Linked DNA regions of Homo sapiens: region 2 is linked to region 1. Evidence: promoter capture Hi-C in 16 types of primary human blood cells and fetal thymus (Javierre and others, 2016). All regions are on one chromosome and are shown on one strand. Each heading gives the region's core, a stretch centred on a gene start or on the middle of the fragment in contact. The rest is flanking DNA. Distances are from core to core; before and after follow the strand shown. Region 1 holds the start of DCDC1 (doublecortin domain containing 1). Region 2 has its middle 30 kb from the start of SNORA88.

Region 1 (6,267 bases), core at 3,768-6,267:
AGACTGAGTTAAGACAACCAACAAAGGGAAAAATGAAAACCATTTCTAAAAGATGAGCTAGGATTATTCATTAGAGCTGATTCTCAATACTATCTAAAGCTTTATGTTAATCTGTCAAAAAAAAAAAAAAGAAGAAAGGAAGTTTCTTTCATCCTAGTCATTCACCTCTCCCTTCCTTCAAAACACTATTTAAAACTTAACATTTCATACATCTTCCTGGATTAGCTTCATCTTGATTCAAGGATTTTAATCATTCAAGTAATCTATTCTACGTATTAGTATACCTGCAAGTTATTAATTAATGTCACAGCACCTGGTATTTCCTCTGGCATAGTACTTCCTACAGTTATTTCAGTTCCTTTTTAAATGTCTGTTTACCCAGATAAACTAAGCTTTTGACAGGACTACAGTCAACTTTGTTTTGTGTCTCTTGTAACTAACGGAGTGTGGGGTACATAAGAGACACTCAACAAATATTTGTCGATTGAGTCAATAGGTGAATGAAGGCTGTATATATATCATTGACTTTTAAAAATCAAATAACTAGCTAGTTTTTGGTGGTTTTTCTATCTTCCCAGTAGATTATAAGTTGCTCTAGAGACAATCATTCAATTTTGGAACATAACCATCATATCCCATGGTACTTAAATACAGCTTAGTTCACTGGTATAAAAATCCTAAAATTCAGAAATAAAAATCAAGGAAATGAAGGAATAGTTGGTGATGGAACTACCAAAAGAGCCAAGTAAATATAATCCTGAATAGGAAATAATTAGCAGAAGTACACTATATGTATACATCTATATAATATAGATATAGATTTCCATTATTATCCATCAATGAGAAGCACAATTGACTAGTATGACATCAAATTAAGAATTTGTGAATGTCTGGTAGACGTTAGTTTACGGGCAGGCGTGTACCAAAGTGATAGATTTAATAACAATGTCATTTTTTCCTATCATCATGACAAAGGATCTTAAACTCCTGATGTATCTAGCTACATCTATAGCACTTGATCAATCATCTGGGAATCAAATATTTAATATACGCCTACCTTGGTTATGTTAGATGCTGATGACGCAAACTAAAGTTTTGCCTATCCTTTTAATTTATTCTGAAGTCCAACCAAATGTACAGTTCAACAAATATTTGGGTTTGATTTTATTTTTCCAATTCAATTGTTTCTTGCTGTCATTTGCTCTCTTTGGAAATTCCTAAAATACTGTTATGAATGTCCAACATTCTAATATATCAAATGTGCAACAAATATTATTAATTAATAATAACAACAATAGCTAACCTTTACTGAATACTTATTACTTTCAGGCACAACTATCTCATTTAATTCCCACAACAAATCTATGAGGGAAATACTATTATTACTCCCATATTACAGAGGAAGAAACCAAAGCAAAGAGATGAATTAAGTTCACATAGCCGTAAGAGGAAAAGCCTGGACTAAACACATATGTTCTGACTCTAGAGTTCATGCTTTTAACCATGATACTAACATAGTTTATATTTCCACTATGTAAGTTTCACATAAAATGGATAAATTGCCTTTTAAATATAAGATACTGAGAAACAAAACTATTAGAGCTATGTATCATTAGAACTCCAGAGAATGAGGCAAGATAGCTGGTTCTTAGTTTCTCTGGAGAGGTGTTCTTGCTCTCAGAAAGCTTGCAACCCAACTGGGGAATCAGAATATATTCTAAGGAAAACAATATACTGTGATATACAAAGGACTTGCTATGAAAGTTGAGGGGCGGCAGTAAGTTCTAAGGACCAGGCCATCATAAAAGGCTTGATGGAAGAGATAGGCCTTAAAGCAGGGATTACTCTGATAGGAGGAAGAAAAGAATTAGGGTGTTATAAGTAAGGAGAAGCATTTGAACACAATTATTGATGAAATGCTGTTACCAAAACACCAGGAGTTCCATCTATGTCTTGCTGCTTACCACCCAAAAAGTCAATCACTGAGACAATGATTATTGTCAAAGAAGAAGGCTTTAATCAGATGCTGCAGCCAAGGAGATGGGACATCAGTGTCAAATTCACCTTCCTCACTGACTAAAATTAGGGGTTTATATAACAGGGAAGAAATGTTAACTACGTATGAGAAAACAGGAACTAAGGAAGGGTAAGGAAACAATAACGAAGAATGAGGGGTCTGGCATATCACTGTCTAGATGCAGTAATCTGGTGAGTTTCAGCTCTTTGATACTTGTTGAGAGGTCTGGGCATCCTTTCTTGAGGAAGGAACTGAGATAAAGATCAACAAAATGTGGCTGGGCGCAGTGGCGCATGCCTGTAATCTCAGCACTTTGGGAGGCTGAGGCAGGCAGATTGCTTGAGCTCAAGAGTTCCAGACCAGCCTGGCCAACATGGTGAAACTCCATCTCTACAAAAAAAAATACAAACATTAGCCAGGCATAGTGGCATGCACCTGTGGTCCCAACTACTTGGGAATCTGAGGTGGGCAGATGACTTGAGCCTGGGAGGTAGAGGCTGCAGTGAGCTGAGATCATGCCACTGCACTCCAGACTGGACACCAGGGCAAGACTCTGTCTCAAACAAGCAAACAAAAAGATAAAACAAATGCAAGTTTCAAGCTTTCAGAAAAGAAGTGTCCATTTCTATGTTTATTAATTTAAAAAACCCCAATAAACAAAACTAAACAAACAAACAAAACCCTGTCTATGGGACTGTTGGGTTGATTTCAGTACCATGAAAAGATCCAATTGTTTAAATGTTTAATGTATGGAGATAATAGGGGAGGTTGGAAAAGTAAGGATCATATTGAAGAGGTAACTTGAATGCTAGGTTAAGGAGTTAGGACTTTATTCTCTAGACCTGCCCTGCTGGATACAGTAGCCACTAGTCACATGTGGCTACTGAGCATTTGAAATGTGCTAGTTCAAATTGAGGTGTGTTCGGGCACAATACATACCAGCTTTTGAAGACTTAGTAGGAGAAAAGAATGTAAAGTATCGCCTTAATAATTTTTAGATTAATTAATTTTGTAGCTTGCACTTACGGCTTACATTATATTTCTATTGGAAAGTACTGCTCTATAAAATGAAAAATGAAGGAAGCTTAATGATCAGAAATTTATGTAAAAATTGTTTTAAGAAGTTTATTTTGGTATAAGCAGAGTGTAAGACAACTGTTCTCATTCAGTAAGCCAATGGCAAGTAAAGAAAAAAACAAGGTTCTAGTGAAGAAATGGGACTGCTATAATTTAAAAGATATTTAAGAGACAGAACAGCTAAATGGAAAGTGTACATTTTGTCTGATTCTGAGTCAAGCAAACCAACCAGAAAAAGACATTTTCAATTAACCGTGGAAATGTAAGTAAGGTCTAGATATTATGTGACAGTCCAATAATGACATTATGGAGATAAAAGAAAAAGTTGGTACATTTTAGGGATGCAAACTAAAGTATGTAGAGATGAAATGACAAAATATTTGGTATTGCTGGGGAAAAAAACTATTTCTTACTTTCCAAACCCCAATAAATAAATAAGGTAACACAATAACCTAATAAATAGTAAATCAAAATAAAATGCTTTTGCTGTAAAAAACAAAAAACCTGGAGTACCGGAGCATATCTACCTACACAAGGAAGAACCAAGCTGTGGACAGAAGGGAGTTTGAGGGCTAGAGATGTTCAAGGTGGCATCATTCTGACAGTACTGTTTAGAAAAGCATTCACCACACTACTTAATTCCATTGCTTTAGGTATTTTCATGAGGCCACACAAGAAAGTATGATGCAGCCAGGACTAAAACCAGATGCTCTTTGTATCTGCCTTTAAACATGACAAAACCCTGTGGAGAACCTAATCTATGCTTTCATCTTTAGATTTTTAAACTTGCTTGTTTCATTCAGTTATTCTTTATAGTTCATAACATCATTAAATAACTGATCATATTAGATTATTTTATTTATTCTGCTTAAGTTTATCTTGACTGCTTCTCAAACTCAGATTGGTAGAAGTTTAAAAAAGAAGGAAAGCAAAATCAAAGCAGTAACAACAAAACCATTTTAACATCTCCAAGTGAAATTTATGTCATGCTGGCCAAAAATAAGATGTAGTTTTCATCTCCAGGTACAATGCTAGGAAGAGGTGTTAATGTAAAGTAAGCAGCACAAAGAAGTAATAAAAGGAAACACAGGAATCAAGAAAGGGAGAAGAAAGAAAGGTGAGAAAAACACCACCACCACCACCACCACCACCACCAGCAACAATAACAAACCCCAACAGTGCCCATATGCAGTGCCCCCTAACTGCTTCGAAGAAGAACAGTTCATTCTGCTTTTTTCTGTAAGCTTGAAAGATAGCATAGCTGCCCTGGGAATGTGTAGACTTGCTGAGTCCTTGTTCTGCCCCTACCCAACTAGCTGTTTGGCCTTGATCCTTGATTTCTTTCCTCATCTATAAAGTGGGAATAATGGCACCTGCCTTACTTGTCTCACTGGGTTGAAATGAAAGCGAAGTGAAATAGCAAATGTGAAAGAATTTTGGAACGTTTTTATGTTGTAAGTTGGTTGCTAAGGTCTAAAAGAAATATTAATAATTACGTCGAATATCTTCTGCAGAAAAAATTAAACCGACCCCATCCCCCGCACATCTAGCCCTACCTGGCATAGGTTTTAGTTCTTTTAATTTTCGAATTAGAACATTGTAAAGGAACTGTAGGGACGAGAGTGGCATCAGGTCTCCTCATCCTTCTCACATCCTTGCCCCCGCACCCCTCTCTCACCCCAGAGTTCAAGCACCAACCGAAAAGATTGAGAGTAGCTCAGGGTACGGTAAACGGAGGAAGCTTTGAAAAAGGCGGGGAAAGCCTGGGATGGCGAGGGGGTGCTCGCTGAGGAGGAGGAGAGAAGCGACAGTCGCGGGGCCCGGAAAAGAGAGACTTAGAGCGAAGCCAAAGGCGCCTTTCTTCACAGTTTGGGAACTTACTGGTAGTAAACGCCACTCCATAGAAGCGGTGACCGGTTACCATAGAGACCGCGTCGGGGTGGGCGGAGCGTCGCTTCTGAGCTGTGCCACGGCCACATCAGCTCGGCCAGAAACGCGAACACGTCGGAACAGTGACTTCCGGCGGAAGAAGAAGCCGGTCCGGAGTTCTGGCCGACAGCAGGCGAGGAGTGGGTAGCAGCGCCTATGTGAAGTTAGGTAGGTCTGATGTCGTATAAAGCGCGGAGAGGGTGCCCGCCAATGGCTGGGTGGGTAAAGCCGACTGTGAATGGAGAAGATTCCCAAGTCCCGAGCTTGAGGAGGCCCCGGCTGTTTCGTTAAGTGTATATAGCTGTGGGAAGAGGTTGCCTGATTTCTGGGGCTCCTGGTAGGGTCTCTCTTCTGGAGCGTGGAAGACTGGGGCATCCTCGCGTAGAGAGTTTCACTCTGTCTTTGCGAGGTCTCAGCGCCTCTCCAATAACAGGGGACTCTTGTTCTCTACCAGCTGGTGCTGACGTTATTTCCCATATCATGCTCTCCAGACAATCTGGAGGAAAAGCAAACGAGAAACTTTCAGAAGGAATGCCCCCAAATTTATTTTAATTCTTTGATGTTCTGTTTTGCTTTTTTTTTATTCGTTCATTTTGTAAATATTCATTAAGCTCCTCCAGCGTGTTTAGTGGGTGCTTACTTGTGTGCCAGTTTTATCATAAGACTAGCAGAAATACCTTCTTAGAGGTTCATACACCACCTGGTTCATTATAAAATTCTTTTTTTTAATGCTGTTCATTAATTAAAGTATAAATATATATCGTGAAATACCTAACACGTTTTCCATACTTGTCGGTACACTTATACCTGGAATTCTTGGGGCATTTTAAATGAAAATCTGTGCTTCCTCAGGTTTGCATTATAATCATGATTTACTCGACTAAATACTAAAGAATTTACAAGGGCAGTACTTAATTTTTTCTTAGATACATGGCAAACTGTGATGAATTGTCATTAATATTTCTATTCAGCTAATCTGAGAAGGCCCACTTCTGGTTCCATGGATGATGGCGGTTGAGCAGATGCCAAAAAAGGATTGGTACAGCATCCTGGGAGCAGACCCATCTGCAAATATATCAGACCTAAAACAAAAATATCAAAAACTCATATTAATGGTAAGTCTTTTCTTTCAGATTTTAAATCATGAGGGGAAAAAAATCAATTTTTATATGAAACCACAAATTTAGGTTTCCAGAAAATAGGATACCAGTGGCAGGAATCCAGGTATTAATTTGATTTAATTG
Region 2 (6,267 bases), core at 1,889-4,388, 800 kb after region 1:
GAAAGATGGAATGTTCTTCCCAAGTTTATCATCTGTAGCAATTACTGTAATTAACAATCAGGACATCCATAAGGTCAGGGTCGGTTCTGCTCACCATTATGTACCCAAGTCCTAGAACACAGTAGGTGCTCTTTAAATATCTGATGCAATGAAAGGAAAATGAGATTGAATGCATTTTGTAGAAGCCTGCCTATTTCAACACAGCTCAGCCTGAAGACTCGTCCATGTGTTCCTCTATAAATCCCCTAGATGGTTGGGACTGAGGTGAGGGGTTGGTGGTGAGGGAGTGGTTGAGAATGAATGGGATGCTAAAAGATGGCCTAAAAGCAACAATGCCCAGTGCGGAGGATTCAGAGATGGAGAAAATACACGAGCTCACTGATGCTCTGGCCAAGAGAGACATCTAAGTAGCAAGAGCACACGTGACCACACATAGCGAAAGGAAGTGTGAAGTGCTGTGGCACAGAGAGGAAGGGGCAATTAATTTTCCCCAGGGGAATCAGGGAGAAATATAAGAAATTATATTATATTAGATTGCAAGTTGTTTTACCAGAAGCTTCCACCGAGACAATATTTAAGACCTCCAGAGACCTAGAGAAATAGTGAGTAGGAGGGCAGGAAGATCACAGGATTGTTAAGTCCCAATCCTCCGAGCCTTAAAGAGTGGCTGATCCGGGAGCGGTGGCGGGCTCCTGTAGTCCCAGCTACTTGAGAGGCTGAGGCAGGAGAATGGCGTGAACCCAGGAGGCGGAGCTTGCAGTGAGCCGAGATCGCGCCACTGCACTCCAGCCTGGGCGACAGAGCCAGACGCTGTCTCAAAAAAAAAAAAAAAAAAAAAAAAAAAAAAAAAGAGTGACTGATCTGTGTTCATGGATGGATGAGTCTTCCCTTCGCTGCCCCGAGGACCTTTGAGTATGTCCCCTCACAGGCCCACGGGTTCCTGTTCTGCTCGATCAAAGCCCAGCCAGACAACACTGTGTCCCAGGAAACAAGAAGTTTAGCAGAGAGGGACTGAAAGTTCTTGTTTTGAAAGGATGCAGTGGGTTATTTCCTGCCACGCTATTTTGTTTCTAGCAAAAATTTTAATAAACAGGCTTTCAGAAGAAGGGACTACATCCTCTCTGCTAGATAGATTTGTTTTTGCCACATGGGTTTCAGTGTTCCTAATGAACTGTTAACAAGCTGTCAATTACACGCACAAATTAGGAGAGATGACATGGAGAGGTTTCTATCACAGAGTGTACTCCTAGGCTGCAAACTACAGACCCTTAGGGCCGAGGGCCTTGCCTTTGGACTTTCCAATGATCCCTTTGACCCATATGGGAAAATCATTGCAATTAGGTCCTGGTTTTGGAGGGGAGGGAGGTTTGAAGACCTAAGTTAAAAGTAAATTTTTTTTTTTTCTCACTCCAAGTGCTGAAAATTCTCTTGGTTTCTAGCAAATCAAACAGTTAATTCTCTGCTGCAACATGTAAACCTGTTTAACTTAAATGGGTGCTGACAGAAGACTTCATTCTGTGCGACTTTTATTGTCATTTCTTTTCCAGCCAATTGGCTCTGTAGCCTTTCTGCTGTTTATCAAGCCCCTCTTTGGGCTTCCGGGAATAAACTCCACACAAAGGAAGAAAACTGTGCAAGCAAATAACAAACTTTCAGTGTAATTATTCCTGCTCTCTGCCTGTCACTCCTTCCCAAGAGAATCTCCAGAAAGTCCCACTTATTCGAGGAGCTCTCAATCTCCCTGGCCTGTTTGAAGTCAGGAATGTGATGCTAGGGGAATGGTTTAGAGCGCCGTCGGCAGTGCTGAGGAAAGCCAAGTAGGCTGGCACATTCTGGGTGGCGGCGTGCCGTTCTCTAGGACACAAAGGGACATGAAAGGTTTTCCGCAGACCCGAAAGAGAAAGGAAACAAAAATCAGAAGTGCTCCCTTGGTGAGAATTGTTGGCAGGGCTCCTCTCACAGAAATCGGATAACAAAAAGACCAGTTACTGGTTAACTTTAAGAAAGAGCCAGCCACGCCAGGGGAAGGGCGCACATTAATAGTGAATGAAATGACCGTGTGCACGGCTTTGTGGTCAAAGGATCCGTGGGAGATTCTGGAAAGGAGGCTGCCCAGAGGGGCTGTCCCTAAACACACGGGGCTGATGGGCCACAGTTGTTCCCATTTCACTCCCATAACGTCAATCGTTTCCCCAGAAAGCCATGGGAGACTCTGTGGGCTGGGCCCTCAGATTTGCAGGGCTGATTCCTGGCCAGCTTAGGTACCCTGTGACTCAGTTTCCTACCTGCTGAAGAACTGGAATGAGGCTGACAATCCCAAAATGAAAGGAGATGCCCAGTGGCAGGATCCCTGGTCCCAGATGCAGAGGCTAGGACTGGCTGGGAGGGCTGTGGCCGGCAATCAGGACGCTGGAGGCTCCGATGGTTTCTTCCCTTTCTGGGGCACTGCTGCCTCCTGCTGTCCTGCCTATTAAATCTCAGGTTTCTCCCTCCACCCGGCTAATCAATCACCACCACCCTCTCCCTGGAGACTTTTCCTTGTGTCACCCAGGGTGCCATCACACATCAGGTCCCTCTTCAAGTCTGATCTTAGGTTCTCACTCTACTCTATCCTGCTGTAAGGGAGGAGTCCTGAATTTGGATTCTGAAGGCTCAGGCTCAAGTCCAAGCTCTGCCACTCACTGTGTAACAAGGAATATATTTCTTCATCTTGATGAACTTTGCTTCCTCTTCTGAAAACAGAGATTGGGGAGGATGAAGTCTCTGTGAGGTCCAAGTGAGATCATGGGAAAACTCTGTAAACCAGAAGGCAGTCAACCAGAGGTTTAATTTTATTATTTACTTATTATTTATTGAAACAGGGTCTTACTCTATTGCCCAGGCTGGGTGCAGTGGTGTGATCACAGCTCCCTGCAGCCTCAACCTCCAGGGCTCAAGCAATCATCCCACCTCAGCCTCCTGAGTAGCTGGGACTACAAGAGATTGCCACCACACCCAGCTAATTTTTATTTATTTATTTATTTATTTATTTATTTATTTAGTAGACACAGGATCTCCCTATGTTGCCCAGGCTGGTCTTGAACTCCTGGGCTTGAGAGATGTTCCTGCTTCAATTTCCCAAAGTGTTGAGATTACAGGCATAAGCCAGCAAGGCCAGCCTTAAACCAGAGGTTTTAAATTTGCCTCTATCTCTCTCTTTTACTCTTTTAGCAGTGGAACCCTCTTTTCCAAATTAGATCTTAAGTGGAGCCCCAAAAAGGCAGAGCGTTCTGGTAGAAGCAGGGGCAGAGCCCCCAGCCCCTTGGCCACACCCTCCAGGTTCTGGTCCCTACCCCATTGCTGGAAAACCACTGCCCTTGAGGAATATTCACTATTAACTATTAGCAATCGAAAGTATTTTGAAAATAAAGCCCCATGCTATTACTGAAAACATGAATAAGAAGATTAGAAGACAGCCAAACAATGCCCTTCAAAATGTCTGTCCACCTCCTTTTCTTTTTTCTTTCCTTTTTTTTTTTTTTGTTTGAGACGGACTCTCTATCTGTCGCCCAGGCTGGAGTGCAGTGGTACGATCTCGGCTCACTACAACCTCCGCCTTCCGGGTTCACACCATTCTCCTGCCTCAGCCTCCCAAGTAACTGGGACTACAGGCGCCCGCCACCACGCCCAGCTAATTTTTTGTATTTTTAGTAGAGACGGGGTTTCACCATGTTAGCCAGGATGGTCTCTATCTCCTGACCTCGTGATCTGCCTGCCTCGGCCTCCCAAAGTGCTGGGATTACAGGCGTGAGTCACCGCGCCCAGCCCTTTTTCTTTTTTCTTTTCTTTTCTTTTTTTTTTTTTTTTTTTTGAGACAGGGTCTCATTCTGTCACCCAGGCTGGAGTGCAGAGGTACAATGGTGGTTCACAGCAGCCTGACTGCCTCAGCTCAGGTGATTCTCCTACCTCAGTCTCCCAGGGTAGCTGGGACTACAGGTATGTACCACTATGCCCGGCTAATTTTTTGTATTTTCTATAGAAACAGGGTTTCACCATGTTGCCCAGGCTGAACTCGAACTCCTGGGCTCAAGCAGTCTGCCCACCTTGGCATCCCAAAGTGCTAGGATTACGGACATGAGCCACCATGCCTGGCCTGACTCCCACCTCTTTAAACACAATTTTTTTTGCAACCTGGTATTCTTTAAGTTTTCCTTGCAATGACTCCTATTTCATTTGTCATATCACCCATTTTCTCCTTGTCTGATACTCATGGCTACTTATCTTTAAAAGTGGTATCTTATGTCCATTTCGTGACTCACCCCTACACACACTAACATGCATGCACACATACACACAATTAAGAGCTACCTAAAAGTATAAATTTCTTAAAACCATTCTACAAAAATGAAAAATGAGCTATAGATCCACTGGTAAGAATCCTTTTGAATCTCCCAACAATCTCTACCACCAGTCACATTGCCAAAAATGACCACAGACAATTGTCCCCATCTGACTAATGTCCTCATCGTCAAGAATGGGATTTGCTGGCAGGTTTGGATCTGACATGAGTTGCAACACCCTGATCAGCTCGTGGGGCCTAGGCCCTGTTTTAATTCAGAGCTGGTATTCCTGCAGGATTCCCCACTACCTTCCCCTTCACTCTGCCGGTTTCATTAGGCAATTCTTCCCGATCTAAACACTCACTGTATGGTAGGTTGCAAAGCCACAGTCCCTACCCCCAGCCCCAGAGAGGCCCAGAGGGAAAGTCAGCAGGTACAATTATAGCTTTCACATGTCCTTCTGGAAAGAGGAGTTAAGTGTTATTTTATATATTTTTCTCAGCACCGTGTCAGTGATTTTCTCGGGAAGCACAAGGCTCCTGCTCCCCCCGCCCACATACAATGAAAATTTTATGGAAAAGTTATCCAGAGGAAGGATGGCAACGTTTTGTTTTGTTTTTTCCTGAAAGCCATGTGGGCTATTTTCTACTGCATACTACTGTCAAGAGCGGAATCACAAATAAATCTAAGAAGCAAGGAGAGGGGTATAAAATATAAACAAGGAAGGAAAGAAAGAAGGGAGTTAGCGAAATAAAGAGAGCTCCACATTTATTAAGAAAAAAAAGAATAAATTGGTTTTTTTTTACAAGCGACAGAAATTGGCCTACAAAGGGCCTTTCCTACTTGCATCCCCAAAACCAACCCGCCAAGCTATGGGCATTCATGGCTCTCTTGTGCCCTCTAGTGGGCAAAGGTGGTCCATGTTTTTTCCTTGAGTGACAGCCAGAGTCTCTCATGCACTTGTCGGCCTTCTTATTACATCATGAATTTTGATAAGCCCATTAGCCAGCCAGGCAGCCAGGAGGAGGATGTCTTTCTCACTTGATGACTACACAATGAGGAGTAATATATTTTAATTTAAACACCATAAACCTATTGAGTGCTTAATTAACTTTAACCGTCTTTAGGGGAATGAAGCCAATTTGAGGGGGTCAAAAGGAGTTGTTTCAATATCAAACAGTTTTACATAGTCAATCCATTCATTCGGCCTACAGCTACTGATTAACACACAAAATTAACATGTTAGTAAAAATTCATATTCAGGCCTCTGGGGAAATTAAGATGCGCATGCACAGGGCATGATTAGCACAGCTATTGTTTTCTCCCAACAATATAATTTAATGGGTTTTTAGAATTACAGAAAGAGAGACTCGGTGCTGGTTTGAATTGATTATTTACCACAAAGCTTTGAAATATAGAAAAGATAGAAAACATCTCAAGCCAAAAAGGCCAGCGAACAGAGGCGGATGGGCTCAGAGCGAGTGTATCTCACTAAGGAGGTTGGCGGGATGAACTGATGGAGAGGCAGGCTGGGCATCCCAACTCGACATGAGCCAGGGCCAACGGGACCAAAGAGAGGATTTCTGGCTGCCTGGAAAAGCACAGTAAGGGCTGCCTGCCCAGGGAGGAGGAAATTATTTCATTTAATATGTAATCATATTATACATACAGTCTATTTCCCAGAAGTATCTAAGGCAGATTATGTTATTTAAACATACTAAAAATAATAAATTTTTAAAAGAATTTTTTTTAAAAAAAAAAAGATAGGGAGTCAATGAGAAAGAACAAAGAGCAACTGAGTAAGGCAGTTACCACATTCGCAAAGCAAATTTAGTTCTGAGCTTCCTGGCAGCCAAGGAAAAAGTGCCAAGTACACTAGGATATATGGTTCTCATTACCTGTTGCCTTCAAAGGGATGTATAAGTTTGACTGAATAGATGTGTTTCCT

The links. The method cuts DNA at HindIII sites, captures the fragments that hold promoters and counts their contacts. A CHiCAGO score of 5 or more calls a contact.
Region 2: a contact is called between a fragment that was not itself captured here and the fragment with the promoter of DCDC1 in region 1, in 4 of 17 cell types (activated CD4 T cells, naive CD8 T cells, erythroblasts and 1 more). The highest score is 7.1, in activated CD4 T cells.

The regions. Positions count from the first base shown.
Region 1 is chr11:31,364,722-31,370,988 of GRCh38, forward strand. DCDC1 (doublecortin domain containing 1) reads right to left here and starts at 5,018. Exons shown (of 39, transcript NM_001387274.1): 1 at 4,976-5,018. It overlaps DNAJC24 (DnaJ heat shock protein family (Hsp40) member C24), which reads left to right and starts at 5,139. Exons shown (of 5, transcript NM_181706.5): 1 at 5,139-5,191; 2 at 5,995-6,138. The coding sequence starts at 6,028. RefSeq lists an enhancer at 4,952-5,431. The HindIII fragment of the contact is 5,979 bases long and covers 4,834-6,267 here.
Region 2 is chr11:32,171,173-32,177,439 of GRCh38, forward strand. No RefSeq gene overlaps it. Among named protein-coding and RNA genes, the nearest start is that of SNORA88, 30 kb to the left of the region's middle. RefSeq lists enhancers at 4,318-6,267, 4,772-6,016. The HindIII fragment of the contact is 5,168 bases long and covers 555-5,722 here.